Regions from separate parts of the Homo sapiens genome. Here all the other regions are linked to region 3. Evidence: promoter capture Hi-C in 16 types of primary human blood cells and fetal thymus (Javierre and others, 2016). All regions are on one chromosome and are shown on one strand. The core of a region is centred on a gene start or on the middle of the fragment in contact, and the rest is flanking DNA. Distances in the headings are between cores, read along the strand shown.

Evidence for each region. Contacts are between HindIII fragments. The CHiCAGO score rates a contact against its expected background, and 5 or more counts as called.
Region 1: a contact is called between a fragment that was not itself captured here and the fragment with the promoter of STON1-GTF2A1L in region 3, in 1 of 17 cell types (activated CD4 T cells). The highest score is 5.7, in activated CD4 T cells.
Region 2: a fragment that was not itself captured here is called in contact with the fragment with the promoter of STON1-GTF2A1L in region 3 in 3 of 17 cell types (neutrophils, monocytes and total B cells); the score reaches 9.4 in neutrophils.
Region 4: a contact is called between a fragment that was not itself captured here and the fragment with the promoter of STON1-GTF2A1L in region 3, in 1 of 17 cell types (neutrophils). The highest score is 6.0, in neutrophils.
Region 5: a contact is called between a fragment that was not itself captured here and the fragment with the promoter of STON1-GTF2A1L in region 3, in 2 of 17 cell types (fetal thymus and megakaryocytes). The highest score is 7.7, in fetal thymus.

Annotation. Positions count from the first base shown.
Region 1 is chr2:47,775,606-47,778,305 of GRCh38, forward strand. No RefSeq gene overlaps it. Among named protein-coding and RNA genes, the nearest start is that of MSH6, 6.2 kb to the right of the region's middle. The HindIII fragment of the contact is 4,643 bases long and covers 1-2,700 here.
Region 2 is chr2:47,825,076-47,827,775 of GRCh38, forward strand. The region is part of intron 11 of FBXO11 (F-box protein 11); the gene reads right to left. Among named protein-coding and RNA genes, the nearest start is that of MSH6, 43 kb to the left of the region's middle. The HindIII fragment of the contact is 5,049 bases long and covers 1-2,700 here.
Region 3 is chr2:48,528,670-48,531,369 of GRCh38, forward strand. STON1-GTF2A1L (STON1-GTF2A1L readthrough) reads left to right here and starts at 1,256. Exons shown (of 11, transcript NM_001198593.2): 1 at 1,256-1,319. STON1 (stonin 1) reads left to right here and starts at 1,485. Exons shown (of 4, transcript NM_006873.4): 1 at 1,485-1,547. RefSeq lists an enhancer at 1,478-2,025 and a silencer at 1,617-1,816. The HindIII fragment of the contact is 9,785 bases long and covers 1-2,700 here.
Region 4 is chr2:47,797,276-47,799,975 of GRCh38, forward strand. MSH6 (mutS homolog 6) reads left to right here. Exons shown (of 10, transcript NM_000179.3): 4 at 1,336-2,700. It also overlaps the pseudogene RPL36AP15. Among named protein-coding and RNA genes, the nearest start is that of MSH6, 15 kb to the left of the region's middle. The HindIII fragment of the contact is 3,395 bases long and covers 1-2,700 here.
Region 5 is chr2:47,888,562-47,891,261 of GRCh38, forward strand. All of the region lies in intron 1 of FBXO11 (F-box protein 11), which reads right to left. Among named protein-coding and RNA genes, the nearest start is that of FBXO11, 17 kb to the right of the region's middle. The HindIII fragment of the contact is 1,236 bases long and covers 633-1,868 here.

The DNA.
Region 1 (2,700 bases), core at 129-2,628, 750 kb before region 3:
TCAGATTTAGGAAGCTCTGAGAAGGCTTCTTTCTGCATCTGTTGAATCTCAAATGTCTTCAGCCTAAAATAATCTTTATACACCAAATCAGGGATTCTGAGTGGTTCCCCACAGGGCTTATCCAGTTCCATCATACTTTGGCTCATTGTGAAATGGCAAAGGGGGCAAAAGCAGCCTGAGGGGAAGGGAAAGATTTATATTTATAGTGCATACATTAGACGCCTGGCAGCAGTTTTCACTTCATCTCATTCCATCCTCCCAATACCTCCATAAGCAAATATTAGTGAATCCCCATTTATCAGATTAGGAGACCAAGGCTCAAGTGCAAAAAATTTACCCAGGGTGCCCAACCTGTACCTGAGGTTGCCAGGATTGAGAACAGGTCTGCGTGGCCTCAGAGCAGGGCTGATCCCAGAACAGTGAATGCAGAGGGCAGGAATGGCCAGTCAGTTGGGAAGCAAGACTGGGGCCAGACTTTGGAGATCAGAGGCTGAGACCATATTAGAAAAGTACCTGGCAATTCCACCTAGGATGGCTTTGGAGAGCTAGAGAAATACTGGTGCTAGCCCTCCCCATCTCTCTATCCCCCAGGGCCATTTGTGGTCTGAGATAATGAAAGTTTCCAGCCAGTTAGTCGAGGTGGCTCATGTCTGTATTCCCAGCATTTTGGGAGGCTGAGGTGGGAGGACTGCTTGAGCTCAGGAGTTTGAGACCAGCTTGGGCAACATAGGGAGACCCCATCTCTACAAAAAAAATTTTAAAAATTAGCCAGGCATGGTAGTAGCATGCCTGTAGTCCCAGCTATTCTAGAGGCTGAGGCAGGAGGACTGCTTGAGACCAGGAGGTTGAGACTGCAATGAGCCATGTTCGCACCACTGGTGACAGAGCCAGACCCTGGCTCAAAAAATAAAATAATAATGGATGTTAGTCACAGGATGGAGAAGATAGCTGGAGTGGGGGAAGGGAGTGCCTCCAGGCTATGGAAGCCCTCAGGCCCATCTTTCCTCTCTCCAAGTGGACTCTGGGTCTGTCTTCCCCAGCCATCCTCCCAGAGCCTCCACCACACCTTTGGTACTTAGGGGAGTACACAAGAGGCTTTGATTTCTGTACCCTTGCTGACCAAAGGCAGAGTGCAAGTGCTATTTCTTTCCACCTGACTTGCACAAAGTTTCTCCCCTCCTTTTTCCTGAGAATTGAGAAAGTTAAAATAAGCAAGGAATGAGAAATCTGAAACATTCCAGGCCATTCATCTGGCTGGGATAACAAAGATAAAGTCAGCTACAAAGTTAAACAGGAAACACAATCTGTCCCAAGGATAAACTGCCATCCCAAAGTAGCATAAGGAAAACTTTTTTTTACTCTTGACAATCTCAGAAATCTTGTTCTCTAAAGTCATAGGCTTTCAGAAACTTTGCTGGCTGAAATTATTGTTATTATTTATTTATTTAGAGACAGGGTCTCAGTCTGTCACCCAAGCTGGAATGCAATGGTGCGATCACGGTTCACTGCAGCCTCGGCCTCACGGGTTCAAGTGATTCTTCCACAACATCGCCAGTAGTTGAGACTATAGGCATGCATCACCATGCCCAGCTGGTTTATTTTTAATTTTTGTGTTTTTTTTTTTTGTAGAGAAAGGGTCTCACTCTGCTGCCTAGGCTGGTCTTGTACTCCTGGGCTCAAGGAATCCTCCCACCTCGGCCTCCCAAACTGTTGAGATTACAGGCGTAAGCCACCTCCCCTTGCCTTGCTGTTTGAAATTATATCAGCAAAAATGAAACATCCCACTCTTGCCTGGAGCGTCTTACTTTGACACAGAAACAGCTTTGATTTACAACCCAGGTGTGTAACTTTAGATACGGGATTTGTGGACGCTATTCCACATCTATCTTAACTTTGCTGTTTCCAAGGAAATGCGACCTTGGGTGGACTTTGTAGTTTAGCTTTGTCTTTACACACAGCTAGATTTGAGCTTTCAAAACACTGTTTCAGGTAAATTTATCCTAAACTCCACCCTCTCCCTCCCTTTTGTAGTTTGGTGAGACACCCCCATGGTTCGTCTGCTGTGGAGGCTCCCCCGTTGCAACCAGCAAAACAAACCCTGACTTTGGCAGACTACAGGCTTGTCCCTGGTGATCGTGAGCTGCTTGGGCTAGGACGGAACCCTCACAAAACATGCCCCTCCTTTCTTCATCCTTGACTTTATCTCCCAAGGCCCAGGACAAAGACGTAGATTGCTGGGTCACGCTGTTCCTTGGACGGGCAAAGGGGGGAACACAGGGCACTGTATTCTTCTGGAGAATACTTGTTTTCTTCTTCTGTTTTGTGTGTGTGTGTGTGTTGTTTTTGTTTTTTTTTTCTGAGACAGGGTCTCAAGGTAGGAGTGCAGTGGCCTGATCATAGCTCACTGCAACCTCAAGCTCCTGGGATCAAGCAATCTTCCTGCCTTGAGCCTCCCGAGTAGAGAGTAGTTAGGACTATAGGCACGTGCCACCACTCCTGGCTAAATTTTTTAAATGTTTTTGTAGAGAAGGAGGCGGTTCTCACTATGTTGCTAGCTGGTCTTGAACTCCTGGCCTCAAGTCATCCTTCTGTCTTGGCCTCCCAAAGTGTTGGGATTGTAAGTGTGAGCCACTGTCCCTGGCCAGTTGGTGATTTATTTGTATAACTGTCCAATTTATTGAATACGTATGGCGTGCCAAG
Region 2 (2,700 bases), core at 3-2,502, 700 kb before region 3:
AACAGGATTTGATGAATTTTTTTTGCCAAATTTAGTAGAGGTTAAAAAGGGGATATTCTGAATACTCTAGTATACTATATGTTTAACTCTTCAAGAAAACAGGCCTCCAAGAATAACATACAAAAGTAGTTTTCAGACTTCATTTTCTAATAAAGAACAAATTATCTATAACTTATATCTCTATATTTGGATTATAACCTTATTCTTTTTTAAAACAAATCAGGAGCTATATAAAAGATAGCGTCTTCAAATATAAAACTTTTTCTTTGATTTTATACAGAATAAAAGTGAATACACACTGGGTGTATAAATACACTGTTATGGCAAAACTGACCATCAAAAAAACAAAAAGAGGCTAGACAAAGAGAACTTAATACTAGATTATTCACCATTTCAGATGTTTTCACCCATGAGGAGGGAGCACAATTAGTATAACTCTTAGTCTCTCTCTGCCAAGAGTTGAATGACATGTCTGGTGGATTTTTTCTTCTTCTTCTTTTTTTTTTTTTTTTTTTTTTTTTAGAGACAGGCTCTCACTCTGTTGTCTGGGTTGGAGTGCAAGGGTGCAATCACTCACTGAAGCCTCAATCTCCTGGGCTCAAACGATCCTCCCCACTCAACCTCCCAAGTAGCTGAGACCACGGGTGCATGGCACCAAGCCTGGCCAATTTTTGTGTTTTTAGTAGAGATGGAGTTTCATCATGTCGCCCAGGCTGGTCTCAAACTTTCAGCCTCAAGCAATCCTCCCGCCTTGGCCTCTCAAAGTGCTGGGATTACAGGTGTGAGCCACCATGCCGGGCCGACAAATCTGACTGGTAAACTTTTACAGCGCTGCAAGCAAAATTTGATACCTCTGAATGCAGTGATACAGTAAAAAAAAATTGATATACACTGACTAAACAGTATTCAAATGCAAGGGATAATCTTTTTGTTTTCTTTAGGTTTTGATTTTACAGAGTTAAGAGACTCAAGTACATCCACAAGTTTTTTTGGTTTTTTTTGAGACGGAGTCTCACTTTGTCACCCAGGCTTGAGTGCAGTGGCACGATCTCGGCTCACTGCAACCTCCATGTCCCGGGTTCACGCCATTCTCCTGCCTTAGCCTCCCGAGTAGCTGGGACTACAGGTGCCGCCACCATGCCCAGCTAATTTTTTGTATTTTTAGTAGAGACAGGGTTTCACCATGTCAGCCAGGATGGTCTCGATCTCCTAACCTCGTGATCCACCCGCCTCGGCCTCCCAAAGTGCTGGGATTACAGGTGTGAGCCACCGCGCCCAGCTGATCCACAAGTTTTTTAAGGCAAATAGCAGCCCTCTCCCTCATTTCCTTTATCCAGAGGGCCCCACTTTTAATTCTTTTAGCTGATTCTTTTGATTCACATCTATTTTATTAAGTAACTCACTGTACTTAGTCTTCACTTTCCAGTTTTAGGTATTATCCACTGACTTCTATTATGGGACAGCAGAATTTAGCTCTCCTACCTCTCTATCCCCCACAATATATACTCACACATTGTATCCTTTCAGTGTAGTTTAACCTTAATTTTGGTTAGATTAGTGTGCTATTCAGAGTTGAGCCATAAAATATGACTTCTTTGCTGCACAATTTTTTGGATTTTTTTCTCCTTTGCTTAGCTTTCTAGTGACAACTCTATCCTAAACTTGTTGCTAGTTGTCCAAATCACCTCTTCTTTTTATTTATTTTTTTGACACAGAGTCTCACTCTGTTGCCCAGGATGGAGTGCAGTGGCCCAATCTTGGCTCACTGCAACCTCTGCCTCCCAAGTTCAAGCGATTCTCCTGCATCATCTCCTATAAATCACCTCTTAATACATTTACATTTACATTAGGTTTACCAATTTATCTTTCTGAACAGCTTTATTGGAGCTTTAACCTGCTCCAATCTGGTTGGCTGCCCTGGTCACAGGCATGCAGTCATTTACCACATTGTATTAATAAATTAGGTTAAGGATTAAATATGTCACCTAATTCCATCAAATATGGAGTTTATAATCTGTATCTTTTGTTTCAGAGTAACTTTCAAGAAAATAAAGCAGCAAAAAGTTTTCTTTTCTCAACGACCTTAAAATGAGAAGCCTCTACATTGGCACAACAATGATTTTACTACCTTTAGAAATGACAAAGATTGATTGACTTATAGTTTTATAATTTTGCAAGAAAACTTATTTTTATTATGGATTCAGTTAATGTAATTTTGCTTCAAGATTTTTTTGTTTGTTTGTTTTTGTTTTTGAGACAGAGTGTCTGTCGCCCAGGCTGGAGCGCAGTGGCGCACTTTCGGCTCACTGCAACCTCTACCTCCTGGGTTCAAGTGATTCTCCTGCCTCAGCCTCCCGAGGAGCTGGGACTTTTGGTGTGAGCCACCACGCCCAGCTAATTTTTGTATTTTTAGTAGAGATGGGGTTTCACTATGTTGGCCAGGATGGTCTGGAACTCCTGACCTCAAGTGATCTGCTCGCCTCGGCTTCCCGAAGTGCTGGGATTATAGGCATGAGCCACTGAACCCGGCCTGCTTCAAGACGTATTTTAATAGAATGCAACTATTTTGTTAAGCAATACCTCTAGTACAAAATAAATCAATAATACAGAACTGTAAGAAATTAGATTTTTTTTTTTTTTTGAGGTGGAGTTTCACTGTCTCCTAGGCTGGAGCGCAGTGGTATGATCTTGGTTCATTGC
Region 3 (2,700 bases), core at 6-2,505:
GGTTCTTAACACTGGCTGGAGGTCAAATAGGGTACTGACTATATTTCCATTTCACCAGCGAACTCCAAGGTCAAAAACAAGGCTACACCTGACAGAACATTTAAAAAAGAATTACACTGCTGTGCAAATACAAAGAAGTGTCCACTGATTTTCACCAACCCTGGGTGCACTGCCTATGAGTTAGCCCAGCTCCTCAAGGAAATTTACGATTAAAAAATAATTCATTGCCTTTCCACCTTCCAGCATAGTACTTCAAGTTGAGATGCTCACCGGGGCCTCCTAACCCCTCTCTTTGGATGCAACCCCTTTCTTCCTAGGTGGTCCATCCTACAGGACTGTTAAACCAATATTTCTTATTTGCCATTTTGAATCCTCAAGGATTCACTGAGTGCCTACTCTACACCTTCGCTTGAAAACTTTCAGAGATTTCCTGTATTCTGCTTCATGCCCAGCTCCACCTTCCCATCTAAACATTGCCCACTTACCCTAAGCCTTCCAGTCTTGCCAACCTCCAAAGCACCATGCCATGGGGCCTAAAATGCCCTCTTCTCTCCCCTCTGAGCCTGTTCAAACTCAGCTCAGTCTCTCGTCCTGGGTTTTGGTGTCTCTCCAGGGTAAAGGGGTGGGGAGGGTGCCTTCATTCTGACTGGCTCCCAGTGAGGCAGCCCCCCTTGAGGAAGAGGCTGAGATGCCAAGTGACTTGCCTGGAGTCATTTGCCAGCAGGCGATGGAATAGGGACTACGAGACACCCTGCAGCCTCTCCTGGGAGGACAACGCCCCTTCTCCCTCTCCATGCACTCTTGAGGCAGCAAAGAGGAGGCATCTGGACGCGTTTACCTCCTCCCCACCCCCACAGCTTGGCCCTCACTAAACTATCTTGTGTCCTTCCTCCTGCTATGATTGATTCGCCCAGGAAGGTGGGGCTTCATCTTTACCTTTCAAATATAATTCTTTAGTTCTCCTAATTACAAGGTGGGGGGTGGGGGGTGGGGGTGGGGTGAGGCGGGGGGTACAAAACAAAACAAAACTCCATGAAGCAACTTAGAAAGCACGACCGCAAAGGCCCTCCATCATCCCCACCCAGAGGTGAGGACAAGGTCTGGGGGTGCTGGGTGGCTTCAGACCTTCCACGGGTCCAAGCTATCTGCTTCAAGAGGGCATCGAAAGGTAACTCATAGACTTACCGCCCCCGCCCCCCGACTTTTGCAGGAGGGAGCGCTCTCCCCTCCTCTGGGAGGCTGGAGACTCGGGGACAGAAGATGCGCTGGAGGGAAGAGAACGGAGCGTCGGACACCAGAAAAACTTTGGGGGATTCGGGGTGAGAAAGAAGGCGTGAAGAGAGAAGGGAGGCTCAGCAGGGGAGGAGGGGCGGGGGCGGGGGCGGGAGCGGGAGGAGTCACTGCGCCGCGGCCGCCCCTCCCCGCCCTCCACTCGGCGGCCCCGGGTCTTCCTCCCCCTCCTCCTCCCCCTCCTCCTCCCCCTCCTCTTCCTCCGCCTCCTGGTGTGGCTGGCTGCGGCCAGAATCGGAGCCCCAACCGCGCTGCCGGTGAGTGACCAGCCCCAGGGGACAGAGACGGGAGGCCTGGGACCCCCCCTCTCCAGGGTGGGGCCTCCCGCCGTGTCTGGGAAAGTTTGCGGGCGCCCCGGGACGCGGGCATCTCCAGGGCCGCTCGGCGCCTCCCCATCTCCCCGCGCCCGCCCTGGCCGCCCCCAGGGGCGCCCTGGGGCCCGCAGAGGGATGGCCTCCCGGCAGGGACTCCTCGGCTCCCCTCTGTTCTGAGACTGCTGCTGGGACCGGGGTCCGACTCTAAAGAGAAAACTCAAACAGCAAAAAAAGGAATATCGACTCAGTTCCGAGGGCGGGGGCCGGGGCTCGTTCTCACCCGCGCGCGGCCCCTCGACCTCTCGGACCCGGGCCACCAGCTCTGCGCCCCTCACGCCTCCCTCGGGGTCTCTGTGTCTCTCTCCCGCTCCCGGACTCCCTCCTCCTTCTGACTGCTGTTATTTGGGCTGTTGTCCCTCCCCGCTCCCTGGTACCTCAGCTCGGACCTTAGCCTGTGCCTGCAGCCCGGAGTCCCCTCCTGCCCTGGAAGGCAAGGAGCCAGGCCACGGGGCCACAGCCGCGGGGGCCACCACACTGGCCCAAATATTTCCTGCAGGTATGACCATTCACTGGGTATTGGGGTTGGGTCCCTTGGACCCACAAACTGAACCTCGTGGGTACAGGGAAAAATTAAAATATATTCCTCCTTAGGATTGTACTGCTTCTGTTGGTTTGGCATCTTTTTATTTTTAACCCTTCTAACTGTGCTTTCTTCGAATAATAATGATACTTCATGTAATTAGCGTTTCTAATATCTAAAGACAGAAGAAGGAAGAAAATAAACGGAAGAGAGAGAATGCTTGCTAAAAATACTCATTTTTGACTTCAGTCCACACTCGACTGTTTTCCTGGGAGATAGAAGTTCAGTGTAGCTTGTTTTCAGACTAACCGCAAACACGATTACAGCCTCCTCCAGGCTAGAAGTTTTAATTTGCCTGACATGCAGCACACTGTTTGTTGGTATTCCCAGCCTGGCATTCCCGTCTGCATAGCTCTAGTCTCCCTCCCAACTCCCCCACCCCCACTTTCTTTCTCATAAAAGGGAGCTGTGAAAACAAGGCAATGGGAGAGGCTCAAACGAGCTGGACCACATAAT
Region 4 (2,700 bases), core at 201-2,700, 730 kb before region 3:
AGTTTCATGTTTTGTTCCTTTTTCAATAGATAAGATAGGGAATGAGCAAGTTAATAAAGTGGGTATTTTAATTTTAAGGTTGAAACTAAGGATCATAACATTATCAGAGGTCTAGAACTGGATGGCAGCTACAGAGATCATTTAGCCTAATACTGGTTTAACAAATAATCCGGGAGATCCGTGATATGTGAATGTGCTAGGCCTGAGATGAGACAGCCAATTGTGGAAGAGCAAACACTAGAACCAGTATAAGTTGCTTACTGCTTTCTTATGCTATTAATGAGCATATCGCCTCCTGATATTTATGATATATGGTCATGCCAACAGCTTTGTCATAAATAGAACTCCCATGGCAGCAATCACTTAATCTTGTAGTTAGAGGTGGGGTCTCACCATGTTGCCGAGCTGGCCTTGAACTTCTGGGCTCAGCGATTTTCTCCACAGGCACCTGCTACTGTGCTCGGTGCAGCACTTTGTGTTTTTGAACATAACCTCAAGATGTTATTGTCTTCATAGTAAAACAAAAGATGAGGCTTAGAACTGGATCACTTTGCCTGTCTCTTCTTACCTCCTCCCAGTTCAAAATGCTTGCATCTCTTAATAGCTAGCATTCCCTTGGATTTTGCACATGAGCTCAAACTCAAGCCTCAGCACAATCTTTTTTATAGTTTTAGTCTTTTAGCCAGAGTCGACTTACCCCCCATACCCACTCTGCTTCCTTCATAATGCTGCTTTCCCTGGGCAGAGAATCCTTGCCCTTCTTGTATTATGTCACTTTGTGGGGTTGGTGTCTGCTACACTTACAGCAAGTCCAGAGATTTTTTTTCCACCACGTTTGCAGGAGAACTATTGGCATGGAAAATGACAATTGTTTTAATGTCAAGTGAAACTGAAGTTGATGTTCATTGAGAGGTTTCTAATTTCTAGAGGTGGGTTCTTTTTTTGGCATATGAAGTTGCAGCATATTAAGAGAATTTACAGTAGTACAGATGGGGTTATCCCATCCACAACTTATGATGGGGTTACATAAACTAAAAACGTGTTTAATACACCTACCCCACCGAATATTGTAGCTTGGGCGTAGCCTAACCTATCTCAGACGTGCTCAGAACACTTAAATGTTAGCCTAAAGTTGGGCAAGATCATCTAACACAAAGCCTATTTTATAATAAGGAATTGCCTATCTCATGTAATTCATCGAATACTGTACTAAAAATGAAAAACAGTGGCTGCACGGGTACCATTATAAAGTCAAAAAATCATAAGTTGAACTGTCTTACATTATGGTTTTCCAAATTTTGATTTGTTTTTAAATACTCTTTCCTTGCCTGGCAGGTAGGCACAACTTACGTAACAGATAAGAGTGAAGAAGATAATGAAATTGAGAGTGAAGAGGAAGTACAGCCTAAGACACAAGGATCTAGGCGAAGTAGCCGCCAAATAAAAAAACGAAGGGTCATATCAGATTCTGAGAGTGACATTGGTGGCTCTGATGTGGAATTTAAGCCAGACACTAAGGAGGAAGGAAGCAGTGATGAAATAAGCAGTGGAGTGGGGGATAGTGAGAGTGAAGGCCTGAACAGCCCTGTCAAAGTTGCTCGAAAGCGGAAGAGAATGGTGACTGGAAATGGCTCTCTTAAAAGGAAAAGCTCTAGGAAGGAAACGCCCTCAGCCACCAAACAAGCAACTAGCATTTCATCAGAAACCAAGAATACTTTGAGAGCTTTCTCTGCCCCTCAAAATTCTGAATCCCAAGCCCACGTTAGTGGAGGTGGTGATGACAGTAGTCGCCCTACTGTTTGGTATCATGAAACTTTAGAATGGCTTAAGGAGGAAAAGAGAAGAGATGAGCACAGGAGGAGGCCTGATCACCCCGATTTTGATGCATCTACACTCTATGTGCCTGAGGATTTCCTCAATTCTTGTACTCCTGGGATGAGGAAGTGGTGGCAGATTAAGTCTCAGAACTTTGATCTTGTCATCTGTTACAAGGTGGGGAAATTTTATGAGCTGTACCACATGGATGCTCTTATTGGAGTCAGTGAACTGGGGCTGGTATTCATGAAAGGCAACTGGGCCCATTCTGGCTTTCCTGAAATTGCATTTGGCCGTTATTCAGATTCCCTGGTGCAGAAGGGCTATAAAGTAGCACGAGTGGAACAGACTGAGACTCCAGAAATGATGGAGGCACGATGTAGAAAGATGGCACATATATCCAAGTATGATAGAGTGGTGAGGAGGGAGATCTGTAGGATCATTACCAAGGGTACACAGACTTACAGTGTGCTGGAAGGTGATCCCTCTGAGAACTACAGTAAGTATCTTCTTAGCCTCAAAGAAAAAGAGGAAGATTCTTCTGGCCATACTCGTGCATATGGTGTGTGCTTTGTTGATACTTCACTGGGAAAGTTTTTCATAGGTCAGTTTTCAGATGATCGCCATTGTTCGAGATTTAGGACTCTAGTGGCACACTATCCCCCAGTACAAGTTTTATTTGAAAAAGGAAATCTCTCAAAGGAAACTAAAACAATTCTAAAGAGTTCATTGTCCTGTTCTCTTCAGGAAGGTCTGATACCCGGCTCCCAGTTTTGGGATGCATCCAAAACTTTGAGAACTCTCCTTGAGGAAGAATATTTTAGGGAAAAGCTAAGTGATGGCATTGGGGTGATGTTACCCCAGGTGCTTAAAGGTATGACTTCA
Region 5 (2,700 bases), core at 1-2,500, 640 kb before region 3:
AAAATAGCTGAGCAACCTTTTTCTTTTAAAAATTACTTTCAACCACTCTGAAAGGTTAACTTACTTTTAGGCTTGTTCTTCTTTGGAATAACACTTAAAATTTCCTGTTAGACAGTTTTTCAGCCATTGCAATGTTTTACAAATCTTATTGCTATGATACAGTATCATGTGTTTATACACACCCAAGCACCCAAACCACACACACTTCAGAACCTCAACTGTAGCCCCTATCTGCTATATTTGGTTCTAGCTAGACAGTTCAAAGAGTCTGCTCATTTTTTTTCTGTCCACACAGATTAAAACACATCTGCTTTTTTAAAAACAGGTTATTCAAAGTAATTTGATTTGTTCTTGGTTGAGTACTTAATCGCACCCAGTTTTTAATCATCTATGAACATATTTAATATGCTCAATAATGTAAATTAGGTAATTATATGAACACACCTTGGACTAGAGAAGATGAAGGAAAACAGAAACATTCATTCACTAAGTGTCTATGTGCAAATGGCTAGCAGTACTTTTTTTTATAAGTTAGCAGTATTTTTTTATAAGTTACAGTTTCCATAACATAACTTTCTAAAATCTCCCCCAACTGACATAACACCAATATGACTGCTTCATGAAAAAACAAAAGCTTTGTTTAAATCCGGTTATGTTGCTTTTCTTCCTTCTTCAGCTACTAAAAGCCACTGTTTCAGAGAAATACATTAAATAAATCTGTGATTGGCTCTTCATAGAACCATGTAGACTATTCCCTAGAATCTATACTTACTGATTTTTCCTTAACCACATCAGTAGCTTCCAATTAAAAAACAAAAAGCAACAAAATTTAGTTGATCTCTTTAATGAAGGTTTTCTAGTGTGCTTTCTCAGGAAAACACTTGTTTTCTCTTGGTTTAGGTTTATAAGAAGCCTGTAAGATGGTCCGACAACTTATCAAGTGAGTGTGAGATGAGTCAATTAAAAATCTAAGAACTAAATTCATGTTTCAAAGTCCTACATTTTTAAAAAAATGGTTATTACTTATTCCCAAACACATTCTTCTTAGAAATCCTCTTAGAAAGTGAGAGGGTTTTTTTTTTTTTAACCAATAATGATGAAATTATTTCCCTTAGCAATCTGTTTCAACACCTAATAAATTGACAGTGACTAATTTCTTCACAGGTAAACTCAAGTTTTACGAAAAGAAAATATTCCCCACATAAAATTATTAAACAGACATGAGTCCATACCACTAGGGTACCTTCAGAAAAAATAGCCACCTGTTGTGATCAACATTAAATTCCTCTTTTCTAATTATCCAGTACATTTGCATACTAAATTTTTCATCTTCCATCATTCAACAGGCTTGTGAGCAAAACATTTGTACGTATTTACTACCATAATCAAATTATCTGACGCAAAAAGAATTTTATGCTACAGTCGCAAACTTATCCTGGAAAGAAAGAATCACTGGTTCAGAGTCCCAAATATCAAATTCCTGGGCTCAAGCAATCCTACTGCCTCAGTCTCCTGAGTAGCTAGGACTACAGGTACATGCCACCAGGCCTGGCTAATTTTTATTATTTATTTATTTATTTATTTATTTCAGAGACAGGGTCTCAGTATGTTGGTAGGCTGGTCTTGCACTCTTGGTCTTAAAGGATCCTCTCACCTCATCCTTCCAAAATGCTAGGACTGCAGGCATGAGCCATGGTGAGTGGACTAATTTTAATTCTGAACTGACTTCCTGATTATCAGTCATCCTCATTTACTAGAAATAATATAGTCAATTATCATCCTAAAGTTGCTGTGAATAAAAATATAGATGTCTATAAATTAATAAGCACTTAAAGCACACTTCCAACATTAAAAATATGTAACATTTAAGCTTTTATTCAAATTTAAAATGCCCTACATGGGGACTGTATCATCAATCAAGTAGTATGAGTTCACGACACAATCAGAATTATAAAATTATTGGCAGGGCACGGTGGCTCACACCTGTAATCCCAGCACTCAGGAGGCCGAGGTGGGTGGACCACCTGAGGTCAGGAGTTTGAGACCATCCTGGCCAACATGACAAAACCCCATCTCTACTAAAAATACAAAAAGTCAGCTGGACATGGTGGCAAGCGCCTATAACCCCAACTACTTGGGAGGCTGAGGCAGGAGACTTCTTGAACTCGGGAGGCAGAGGTTGCAGTGAGCCAAGACTGGGCCACTGTGCTCCAGTCTGGGCGACAGAGCGAGACCCTGTCTAAAAAAAAGAAAAAAAAAAATATTATTATTATTGAGACACAGTCTTGCTCTATTGCTCACGCTGGAATGCAGTGGTGCAATCATAGCTCACCGCAGCCTTGACCTCTAGAGCTTAAGTGATCCTCCCATCTCAGCCTCCTGAGCAGTTGGGACCACAGGCATGTGCCACCATACCGGGATTTTTTTTTTTTTAATTTTTTTTGTAGAGATGGAGTCTCCCTATGTTGCTCAGACTAGTATCAAACTCCCGGGCTCAAGCGATCCTCCTGCCTCTGCCTCCCAACATGCTGGGATTACAGGCATGAGCCACTGCCAAAACTATTACTTTTTACTTTATTCTCATACATGAATACTACCTTCTTAACAAATGTTTAAGTGTACAATACAGTACTGTTGACTATAGGTACAATACTGTATGGCGGAACTTATTCATCCTGCTTAACTGAAACTTCATGCCTG